Regions from separate parts of the Homo sapiens genome. Here region 1 is linked to region 2. Evidence: promoter capture Hi-C in 16 types of primary human blood cells and fetal thymus (Javierre and others, 2016). All regions are on one chromosome and are shown on one strand. The core of a region is centred on a gene start or on the middle of the fragment in contact, and the rest is flanking DNA. Distances in the headings are between cores, read along the strand shown. Region 1 holds the start of COPS9 (COP9 signalosome subunit 9). Region 2 holds the start of NDUFA10 (NADH:ubiquinone oxidoreductase subunit A10).

Evidence for each region. The method cuts DNA at HindIII sites, captures the fragments that hold promoters and counts their contacts. A CHiCAGO score of 5 or more calls a contact.
Region 1: a fragment that was not itself captured here is called in contact with the fragment with the promoter of NDUFA10 in region 2 in 1 of 17 cell types (total B cells); the score reaches 5.1 in total B cells.

Annotation. Positions count from the first base shown.
Region 1 is chr2:240,132,456-240,137,296 of GRCh38, reverse strand. COPS9 (COP9 signalosome subunit 9) reads left to right here and starts at 992. Exons shown (of 3, transcript NM_001163424.2): 1 at 992-1,075; 2 at 3,292-3,364. The coding sequence starts at 1,013. RefSeq lists enhancers at 471-580, 591-690 and a silencer at 1,131-1,180. The HindIII fragment of the contact is 2,067 bases long and covers 2,475-4,541 here.
Region 2 is chr2:240,024,075-240,028,844 of GRCh38, reverse strand. NDUFA10 (NADH:ubiquinone oxidoreductase subunit A10) reads left to right here and starts at 3,503. Exons shown (of 10, transcript NM_004544.4): 1 at 3,503-3,618. The coding sequence starts at 3,544. RefSeq lists an enhancer at 2,679-3,508 and a silencer at 3,317-3,576. The HindIII fragment of the contact is 3,872 bases long and covers 2,222-4,770 here.

The DNA of each region.
Region 1 (4,841 bases), core at 2,259-4,758, 110 kb before region 2:
AAGGCTGAAAATCTGTCCCCACTAAACACGAACTCCCCATTTCCCCTTCCCCAGACCCTGATAACCCCCTTCTACTTTCTGTCTCTATGACTTTGACTCCTCTAGGGGCCTCGGCTGAGTGGAATCATGCGGTGTTTGTCTTAGGACTGGCCCGTTTCCCTCGGCAGAGCGTCCTCAATGTTCCTGCGCGTGGCAGCAGGTGTCGGCATTCCCTTCCTTTTAAAGGCTGAGTAATGTTCCACAGTGTGCATGGCCCACATTTGCTTATGCACGTATCCATCGATGGGCAGGGACAGCGGGGGACGCTTCCCTTTTTCATTTATTATAAATAACGCTGCTGTGAACGTGGGGTAAAGACGCCCCTTGGAGCCTCGGCTTTTGGTCCTCTGGGCTTGTGCCCGGAAGGGGAGTGCTGGGCCACGTGGGTGTCCGTGTTTGATTTTCTGGGACCTGCCCCCCCCCGTCTCCCGCCCCGGCTGCCGCGTCTCACTCCCCGCCGCGGTGCGAGGGGCCCCGTGTGCCGCGCACCCTTCCACCCGTGTTTTGCTGTTTTTTTGACTCTGGGCGTCCCAGGGGTGCAGCGGCCGTGGGGCCCTGGTTTGCTTTCACCTCTTCATCTGCTCACTGGCCGCGAGTGTGTCTTCTTCAGACAAACGTCTGAAGGTCAAGCCCTGGGCTCCTGTGAACCCGGCCGTCTTTGCGGCAGAGTCTGAGGCTCCTTCTTTATTCTGGATCCGGCCTCTGGTCGGAGGCGTGCTCTGCAGGCACTGCTCCCATTGCTGGCAGCCTTTTCTCCCCGTGGCCGCCCGGCCGCCCATCAGAGGCGTTGCAGACGCCCGCCCTCGCCAGCGCAAAGACAAACGCCGGTGGCCGCGGACGCGCCGGCGGCCGGGAGCACCCCAGCGGGCGGGCACCACAGAGGCGCGGTCCTCCGGCGTCTAGATCTGCCATGTGGCGCGCGCCGGAAGCGGCTCTGAGGCCGGAAGTGAGCCTAGAGCGCCGCGGCCCCGAGATGAAGCCGGCGGTGGACGAGATGTTCCCCGAGGGCGCCGGGCCCTACGTGGACCTGGACGAGGTGGCACGGGCCCGGCGGGAGTCTCCGAGCGTGGGGAGCGGGGAAGGGGGAGCGGAAGGGCGGCGTCCTGGTGCGCGGGTCCCGGGGAGGGGAGGCCGGGCGGGTGGGCGATGGGCGCGGCTCCCAGGCTCCCTGCCCCGCGGAGAGCAAATCCCGGTTTCTCCGAGCACCTGGTGAAAGGCGGCGACCGACCGCGGCGGGAAGCGTGTGCCCTAGCCCGGGGGACCAGGAGGCGCAGCCTGAGGGTTGAGTGCCTGCTGGGTGCCCCCACGGCCCCCGGGAACACACCCGTGGTCAGAGGAGTTGCGTTTGCTGCTCTTCGATGGCTGCAGCACCCCATGGGGGCCCGCGGTGCGTCTCCATAACCTCGTGTGGGATTTGAGCTCGTGTTAGGGGATTTGGGGGAAGAAAGTGGGCTTTACTGTGCCTTGGAAGCGAGGATAATTCTCCGATTGGGCCTCTTAATCTTAACTAGAATGAGGGAAGACTGGAGCAGCCGTCATTCCTGTCGGAGCGGAAAAGGAGACATCTGGCATTTATGTGCTTTGCGTAGTGGCCTCGTTCTTCTTTTTAATTATACAGGATTATACAGTCGTCTTGGGGTTTTGTTGGTCTCTATTGTGTTCACAGAGTGACCTTGTCTGATGTGAGCGTTCTGAGATGGTTTATGGTCAGCAGGAGAGCACCACAGCCTAGCTCAGAGTGGCAGGCCAGCTCCTACATGTCAGGGCCTTATGTGCTCTTTCTCAAAGCTTAGGGGCTGCAGAGGTGGTCAGAGGCAGCCCTTGTGCTTGTGGAGGTAATAGCATGGCAGAGCGGCTGATTGCAAATACCAGGTGTCATAGAAAGCCGAAGGCGCACCGACGGATGGACCCTCAGGGCTTTGAGGGGGCTCAGCAAAGGTACAGCTGAGGAGTCGACTCTGTGGCCAAATGCTGGGGGACACATTGGTGTTTGCCAGGTAGTGGGGGATGAAGGCCCGGCAGGAGCAGAGCCCTGGGTTGGGGGATGCCGACTGGCTCACCAAGGGAAGGGAATGTTGTGTCGTTTAACATGGTTGAGCGTGCAGTGCCAGAGAGAGGGGAGACAGTGGGTAGGGACTCTCTCCCTACCCAGATCGTGAAACCATCTGGAACCATGCTAAAGAGGGTGGCTCTGTGCACCCCGCTCCCGAAGCACTTCCATTAAACCCAGGCTTCTCAGTCCTGTTTTACAGTCCTAGGCTTCACAGTCCTAGGCGATGTGGAGCCACCGGAGGGCTTTACAGTGGGGAGTGAGAGGCTCCGACTTGCTCTGTAGGGTGGCAGCATTTACGGGTGAGAGGGTAGAAAAATGAGAGCAGGGAGAACAGGAGAGTTGAAGAGGGTGTGAATGAGGCAGATGGAGGTAGGGACAAGCTTCAAGTGGTAGAATGCGCGTGGCTTACTGTGCTGATGGGGACAGGGAGGGTGGCTGAGAAGCCAGGGGAGGAGACTGAGTGTCCTGGCTTTTCTGAGAGTGTCTGAAAGGGAACAAGGGCATGCAGCTATGTGGGGATCAGGGCAGGTCTGAGCAAGCGGCCTTGTGAATGCTGGGGCCAGGGCAGCAGCAGGACCTGTGGCCAGCTGTCCAGGGTGCTGCTGTCAGAGGAATCTGCTCCCTCTGTCACCGGTTGACTCTAAACAGGACCCAAAATCCTGAGGGCTTCAGATTGCCCAGCTTGGGTTGTGACATGGTTTTTCCACTGCCGTGGAGTTGTGGCAGTGGACGGTCCATGATAGCAGCGGGGCACCAGAACCTCAGAGGCAGAGCAGGTCAGTTTCCTCGGGGAAGTGGTTTCATTCCCAGAAGAGAGAGGGAAGGGATCCTGAGTGGAGGCGATGGGCTCAATTTCGCATGTTTGTGGCCTCTGGCGATGTCCGGCGAGGGATCGGAAAGCTCTCCTTGAGGGGCACAGAGAAGTAGTGGTGCTTAGGTCAGTGGTAGGTTTCTTTTTTAAAGGCAGACAGGAATCAAGGAACAGAAGCCCTTGAGAGACCTTAAAAATCATTCCTTTGAATTCCTCCCCCTCCCCCCAATACACATTCCTGTGTCTGGAACTAAAATGTTGACTCCAACTTGAGCCTGTTTCCCCTCACCCATCTTCTTTTTTTGTGGGGGTAGTGGCCCTGCAATGCACTTATCACCTGTTCTTTCGGAAAACGCACCTGACATAACCTTGCCTTTCCATTCCCCAGGCGGGAGGCAGCACCGGGCTCTTGATGGACTTGGCAGCCAATGAAAAGGCCGTTCATGCAGACTTTTTTAACGGTAAGGATGCTTGGAATGGGATGCCAGATTTAATCTGAATATTTCTTCTCTAGGTGAAGGCAGTGAAGCAACTTGGTGACATGAATAATTTGGATCATAAGGTGGTAGAGCCCCTGCGCTCCTCTCAGAATGCAGTGCAGCCTCTGTGGAGCGATGACACGGGCTGCGGCCACTGGCAGGCAGCCTTATTTTTCAGGAGAAAAGTAGCATGAAATTGTTCCCAGCTTGCAGCCCAGTAGTTGAGTTTGAGCTCTGGCATGCGTGTTACATGTGCCTGCGGACACCTCAGACTGTAGCCAGGTCTGGGCCCTCACCCCACACACGGCCATAGGAACCCCATCTGTCTCCCTGTCTCCGCCCTCTCCGGGTAGCCGGTTTCCTTTCCTCTCCCAGCCCACCTGTGTTTGCCTGCCTGGGTTCTCATGCCCTCAGCTGCCTTTGCAGAGGGACAGCCATACTCCAGCTCTTGCCCAGCTCTGAAATCAGGACGCAGGATGTGTTTTCCTCTTGATTTAAGGGCTTCAGTGCTAGTTACCAAAAACATGGGTAAACCAAATGAACAGTGAAAAGCAAATTTTCTGTAACATCTTCAGACCTGCTAGAGGGAATATTTCTCATTCTCTTCTGATTTCTTCAGGCCTTATTCCTATAGATGATATTAACCTTTACTAAGGGTTCAAATAATAAGTAAATAAGATAGGTTTCTTACTCCAGAGAGTGAGGTGGCATTTTTCATCCTGGTTTAATCCATGGTGCTTTTCTCTACAGAAAGCTCTTGTTACTAGTTAACAGCTAGGACCTGAGCTTGCCACATCGGTTTCTAATTTACCAGAGACCCCCTGCCATCCTGAGTCCCTGCTGCTTCATCAGGCTTACTGTCAGGCAGCCATTGCCTGAGGGGAGCAGCCAAGCTGCTGAGTTGGGGTGCAGGCTTTCCCAGGGTGCCTGGCCATGCCCCTGAGGCAGCATTCTTACTGCTACCAACTGGAGTCAGAACTGAGGCAGATGACATTTGAGATGAGCCTGGAGAACTGAATAGCATTTATTTCAATTCTTTATGCCAGAGCGAGGTGGGAGAAGGGTGTTGCCTTCAGAGGGAACAAATTGTACAAAGCTGCAGAGCGCTCTCCAAAGCTGCTTTGCAAAAACACCAGCTCACCAGGGCGACTTTGAAGCTTTTCACGTGGGCAGGATTGGGCAGTTGCTAATGCTGGCACCACACGCTTGCATTTTGATGATCTCCTTCAAAGTCCCATTTATCCTCTGCCAGCCCATTGGTTAGAGGCGATTGCTGTGTTCTAGTGTTTGAGTTCACATGACTTCCAGAGTCAGCCCTTGAATCCTGACGGGAAAGCATCTCTGAGAGGGACCCAGGTCCTACCCGTCAGGTGAGCGCCCAGCAACCTGAGCATTGTGGGCGCGTGTCTGCCTTTGAGCCACGGCCGGTCAGGGAGGGGACGCAGGAGAGCTCTGTGTC
Region 2 (4,770 bases), core at 2,254-4,753:
AGGTAAGTCAAAATATAATGTCATAATCTTATGGGACCACCATCTTATGTGCCGTTCAGTTCATCATTCACCAAATGTCATTGTGTGGTGCACTACTGCGTCAGTTGAGAATATTTGTGCTGGCTTATTTCTGGATCCTCTGTTCTGTTAAATTGATCTACGTATCTATCAATATCACACCCTCCATCCATACAACACAGTCTTGATTTATATGATTATGTAGTAAATCTTAACACTGGAAGAGTGACTCCTCCCACTTTATTCTTCTGCTTCAAAATTATTGTGGCTATTGTACAGCCTTTATATTTTTATATAAATTTTATAGTAAGCCTGTCAATGTCTACAAGAGAACCTCGCTGAGATTTTGCTAGAAATTCCATTAAACCTAAAAATCAATTTGGGAAGAACTGACTTCATTACTCTGTTGAGTCTTTCAATCCATGAACATAGTAAACCCCTCCAATTATTGAGGTCTTCATTCTTTAAATCAGTGTTTTGTACTTTTTAATATGCAGATTCTGTGTGTGTTTTGCTGGATTTAGACCTAAATATTATATTTTCTTTGAAGCAACTGTAAATGGTATTCCATCTTTTATTTCAGTTTCCTTCTGTTTGTTGTTAGTACATAGGATGCAGCTGATTTTCATATGTTGACATTGCAGCCTGCAAACTTGCTGCGCTCACTCATTAGTTCCAGGAGGTTTTTGTAGATTCCTTTGGGTTTTCTATGTGAACAGTCATGTCAACTAAAAATAGACAGTTTTATTTCTTCCTTTCTGATCTGTATGAATTTCATTTTTTATTTTTTGCCATACTGCATGGCCTATTACTAGAACTTCCAGTGCTCTGTTGAATAAGAGTGGGCAGAGCAGATATCCTTGCCTTGTTTCCTCCTTAGAAGGCAAGCATTCAGTCTTTCATGATTAAGTACAATGATGCAGAGTTTTCACGCATGTGCTTTATCAAGCTGAAGCAGCTCCCCTTTAGTCCTTATTTGCTGAGAGCAGTTTTTGTTTTTATCATAAATGAGTATTTAATTTTGTCAAGTGATGCAGAAAACTGCATCAGGCAATCTGGTCATAGATTTCGTCTTTCACCTGCTGGTAAGGTGTATTACATTGGTTGATTTTCAAATACCAGATTAGCCTTGCATCTTCTGAATAAACCACCTTGGGTTGTGGTGTATGATTCATTTCATATAGTGTTGGATTCAATTTGCTAACATTTCGTTAAGGATTTTTGTGTCTAAGTTCACGAGAGATATTGGTCTATTGGGGTCTGAAGTTATTTTCATGCTGTCTAATATAGTGTGGACGTCAAAGCGACCTCCTAGAGAACATTCCTAGCTCTCAGAACGTTCTAGCTGGGGAGGGAAAACGGAAAAAGGGGGGCGAGAAGCGGAGGGACGGGGAAGTATATAGTAATACTTCCCTTGAACCAGTAAAACTGTAATGCCCAACCTGGTTTTTACTAACTGTTTTCAGACTCTCCCTTTTCCTTTAATCACCTAGCCCTGTTTCCACCTGAATTGACTCTCCCTTAGCTAAGAGAGCCAGACAGACTCCATCTTGGCTCTTTCACTGGCAGCCCCTTTCTCAAGGACTTAACTTGTGCAGGCTGACTCCCACCACATCCAAGAATGCAATTAACTGGTAAGATACTGTGGCAAGCTACATCCGCAGTTCCCAGGAATTTGTCCGATTGATAACGCCCAAAGCCCCGGGTCTATCATCTTGTAATAGTCTTAAAGCCCCTGCACCTTGAACTGTTTACTTTCCTGTAACCATTTACCCTTTTAACTTTTTGACTACTTTACTTCTGTAAAATTGTTTTAACTAGACCCCCCCCCCTTCCTAAACCAAGGTATAAAAGTTAATCAAGCCCCTTCCTCGGGGCTGAGAGAATTTTGAGCGTTAGCCGTCTCTCGGTCGCCAGCTAATAAAGGACTCTTAATTCGTCTCAAAGGTGGTGTTTTTCTAACTCGCTCAGGTACAACAAAACATCCACGCAAACAGGTTGTGAGAAGTTACGTCTGCGTGCTGTGATACCTAGAGGAACCACTACGAAAACTATACATAATGATATTTCCCAAGACATTATCAGTAAATCAAGATGGAATTCTAAAAAAATGTACTGTATCCATTGGAAGGCACAAAAAAAAAAAAAAAAAAAAAATGCAAAGGAAACAAGGCAAAAAACAGCAGACATGAACCCTAAAGCTTGTTAAATGGATTTCAGGTGCCCTCCAGGATCTAAAAACCAGACCCTCCTGCGTTGGGGACCGGGAATCCGTATTTTTGACAAAAAGCAATTCTTCAATTATAGAAACATCCATAGAACCGGCCGTAGTTTACACAGCTGCATTCCCACTGTTTTACAATCGCATGATCATTTCTGAAAAGTTGAAAACAAAGTTAAAGAATATTTAAGGGGTTAAGAACAAAAAGCCTGGGGAACACAAAAGATTATAAAAACCCTTCCCAACAGCAGGCATACTTGGAAGGAAACCTCACATGCAAGGCTCCTTCGTGGAGCCCAGAGCCCAGGTCCTGACGGGAGCACATTTTAAGAGATGGACTTGCCGGCGCGGTGGCTCACGCCTGTAATCCTAGCACTTTGGGAGGCCGAGGCGGGTGGATCACGAGGTCAGGAGATCGAGACCATCCTGGCTAACATGGTGAAACCCCGTCTCTACTAAAAATACAAAAAATTAGCCGGGTGTGGCGGCGGGCGCCTGTAGTCCCAGCTACTCGGGAGGCTGAGGCAGGAGAATGGCGTGAACCAGGGAGGCGGAGCTTGCAGTGAGCGCGATGGCGCCACCGCACTCCAGCCTGGGCGACAGAGCGGGACTCTGCCTCAAAAAAAAAAAAAAAAAAAAAAAAAAAAAAAAAAAAAAAAAGAGATGGACTTGGAGCGTGTGCTTTTGTTTTCTATGCTATTCAATGTGTTCACAGCAGGTCCCCTGGATGAGACCACTTAGCCTTCAGCTCCGGAGGCGACCCAGGCCGGCCTTGCCAGGTCCCTCTCCCTGACAGGCGCCCCGCGACAGGGGTCCCACCCCGTCCCTCCGCTCCTCGCCCCCTCTTTTTCCACTTTCCCTCCCCAGCGAGAACGTTCTGAGAGCTAGGAATGTTCTCTAGGAGGTCGCTTTGACGTCCACACCGCGCCTGGGGGATTCTGCGGGGAGCACAGGACCCTGGGACGAGACGCAGAAGTCGCTCCACGCCCTGGGCGGCCTCAGCTCCCGCGACACCGCAGCAACTCAGAACCCAGGCAGGGGCCGGGCAGCCAGCATGCTGCCCCCACGTTCACCTCCAACTCCCACCTCTCGGCCCTCGCCCCAACCCGCAGGACCCTGGCAGCGCACTGGCTGTCTCCGCGGAAGCCCCCGAGGGCCTCGGCGCGGCCCCGCCCCCTGGAAGGTTCCCGACAGGCGCCGCGGGCACCCCGGCCGTGACGTCACGGCAGCGCGCCGGCCGCGAGAGAGGGCCCCGTCGCGACCGCGTCCCCTTGGGTCCTTGATCCTGAGCTGACCGGGTAGCCATGGCCTTGCGGCTCCTGAAGCTGGCAGCGACGTCCGCGTCCGCCCGGGTCGTGGCGGCGGGCGCCCAGCGCGTGGTGAGCGGGCGGCGGGGTGGCAGGGTGGCGGGGTGGCAGGGTGGCGGGGTGGCGGGGTGGGGAGCAGTTCCACATCTCCCCCGGCCTCTGGCGGCGGCTCCCAGGTCGCTCTCCGGGTGGGTTTGGGGGACCCCTCCTGCCTCCGGAATTGTTTGGTCTTTGGTCGTGGACAGACCTCAGGGGGCCACGAGCTTCTCCAGGCCATTTTATCTCAGCTTTAAGCAAAACGCTGGAGCGCGGAGGTGATCAGGGCCCCGAGGCTGCCCTGATGCGGGAGGCCCGTGTGCAGGTGGCAGGCCGGGGGCACACGCGCTTGTCATTAGATAATTCACGTAGCAGCCCTGTCAAGAGCCGTTTAAAGGTCGGGCCCTGCTGGGTGCTTGGGTGATGCCATGTTGAGCAGACACGGAGTTCAGTGCTTGTGTCCGCTTCCTTTTGCCTTTACTCTGACTGACTACTCTCATTTCTTAGCATTTTGCCCCCACCTTCTTCAGTGAAATCGTTTCATACATTTGTAACACAGTTGGATTGCTTTGTCACATTCTGCCTTACATCTTGGGATCCTTCTACCTAATGCGTTTTTTAAAATGTGCATACATTGAGCGCATTCTTTGTGCTATAAGGTTCTATGGATTTTTTCTTTGTGCTATAAGGTTCTATAGGTTTTGACACGTGTGTAATAGCATGTCTCCACCATTATAGGTTCGTACAGAGTAGCTTCACTGCCTTAAAAAATTCCCCTCTGCTTTACCTATTAAACCCTTCTTTTTCTCCAACCCCTGACAACCACAGATCTCATTAACATTTCCATAGTTGCCTTTTCTGGAATGTCATATAATTAGAATCATACAATATATTGCCTTTTCAGACGCCTTGAATACTTGGAAATATCTATGTAAGATTCACTTATGTCTTCGTGGCTTGGTAACTCATTTCTTTTTAATCACTGAGTAATATCTCATTGCATGGATGTACTTCAATTCATTCAGCAATTGAAGGGCATCTTGGTTGCTTCAAGTTTTTGGCAATTATGAATAAAGCTGCTGTAATCGTGTACATGCAGATTTCTTTTTGGAAATACATTTTTATATCATTTGGGTAATACCTGGAAGAGCGATTACTCATGTAGTAAGACTAGTTTTCTAAGAAGCT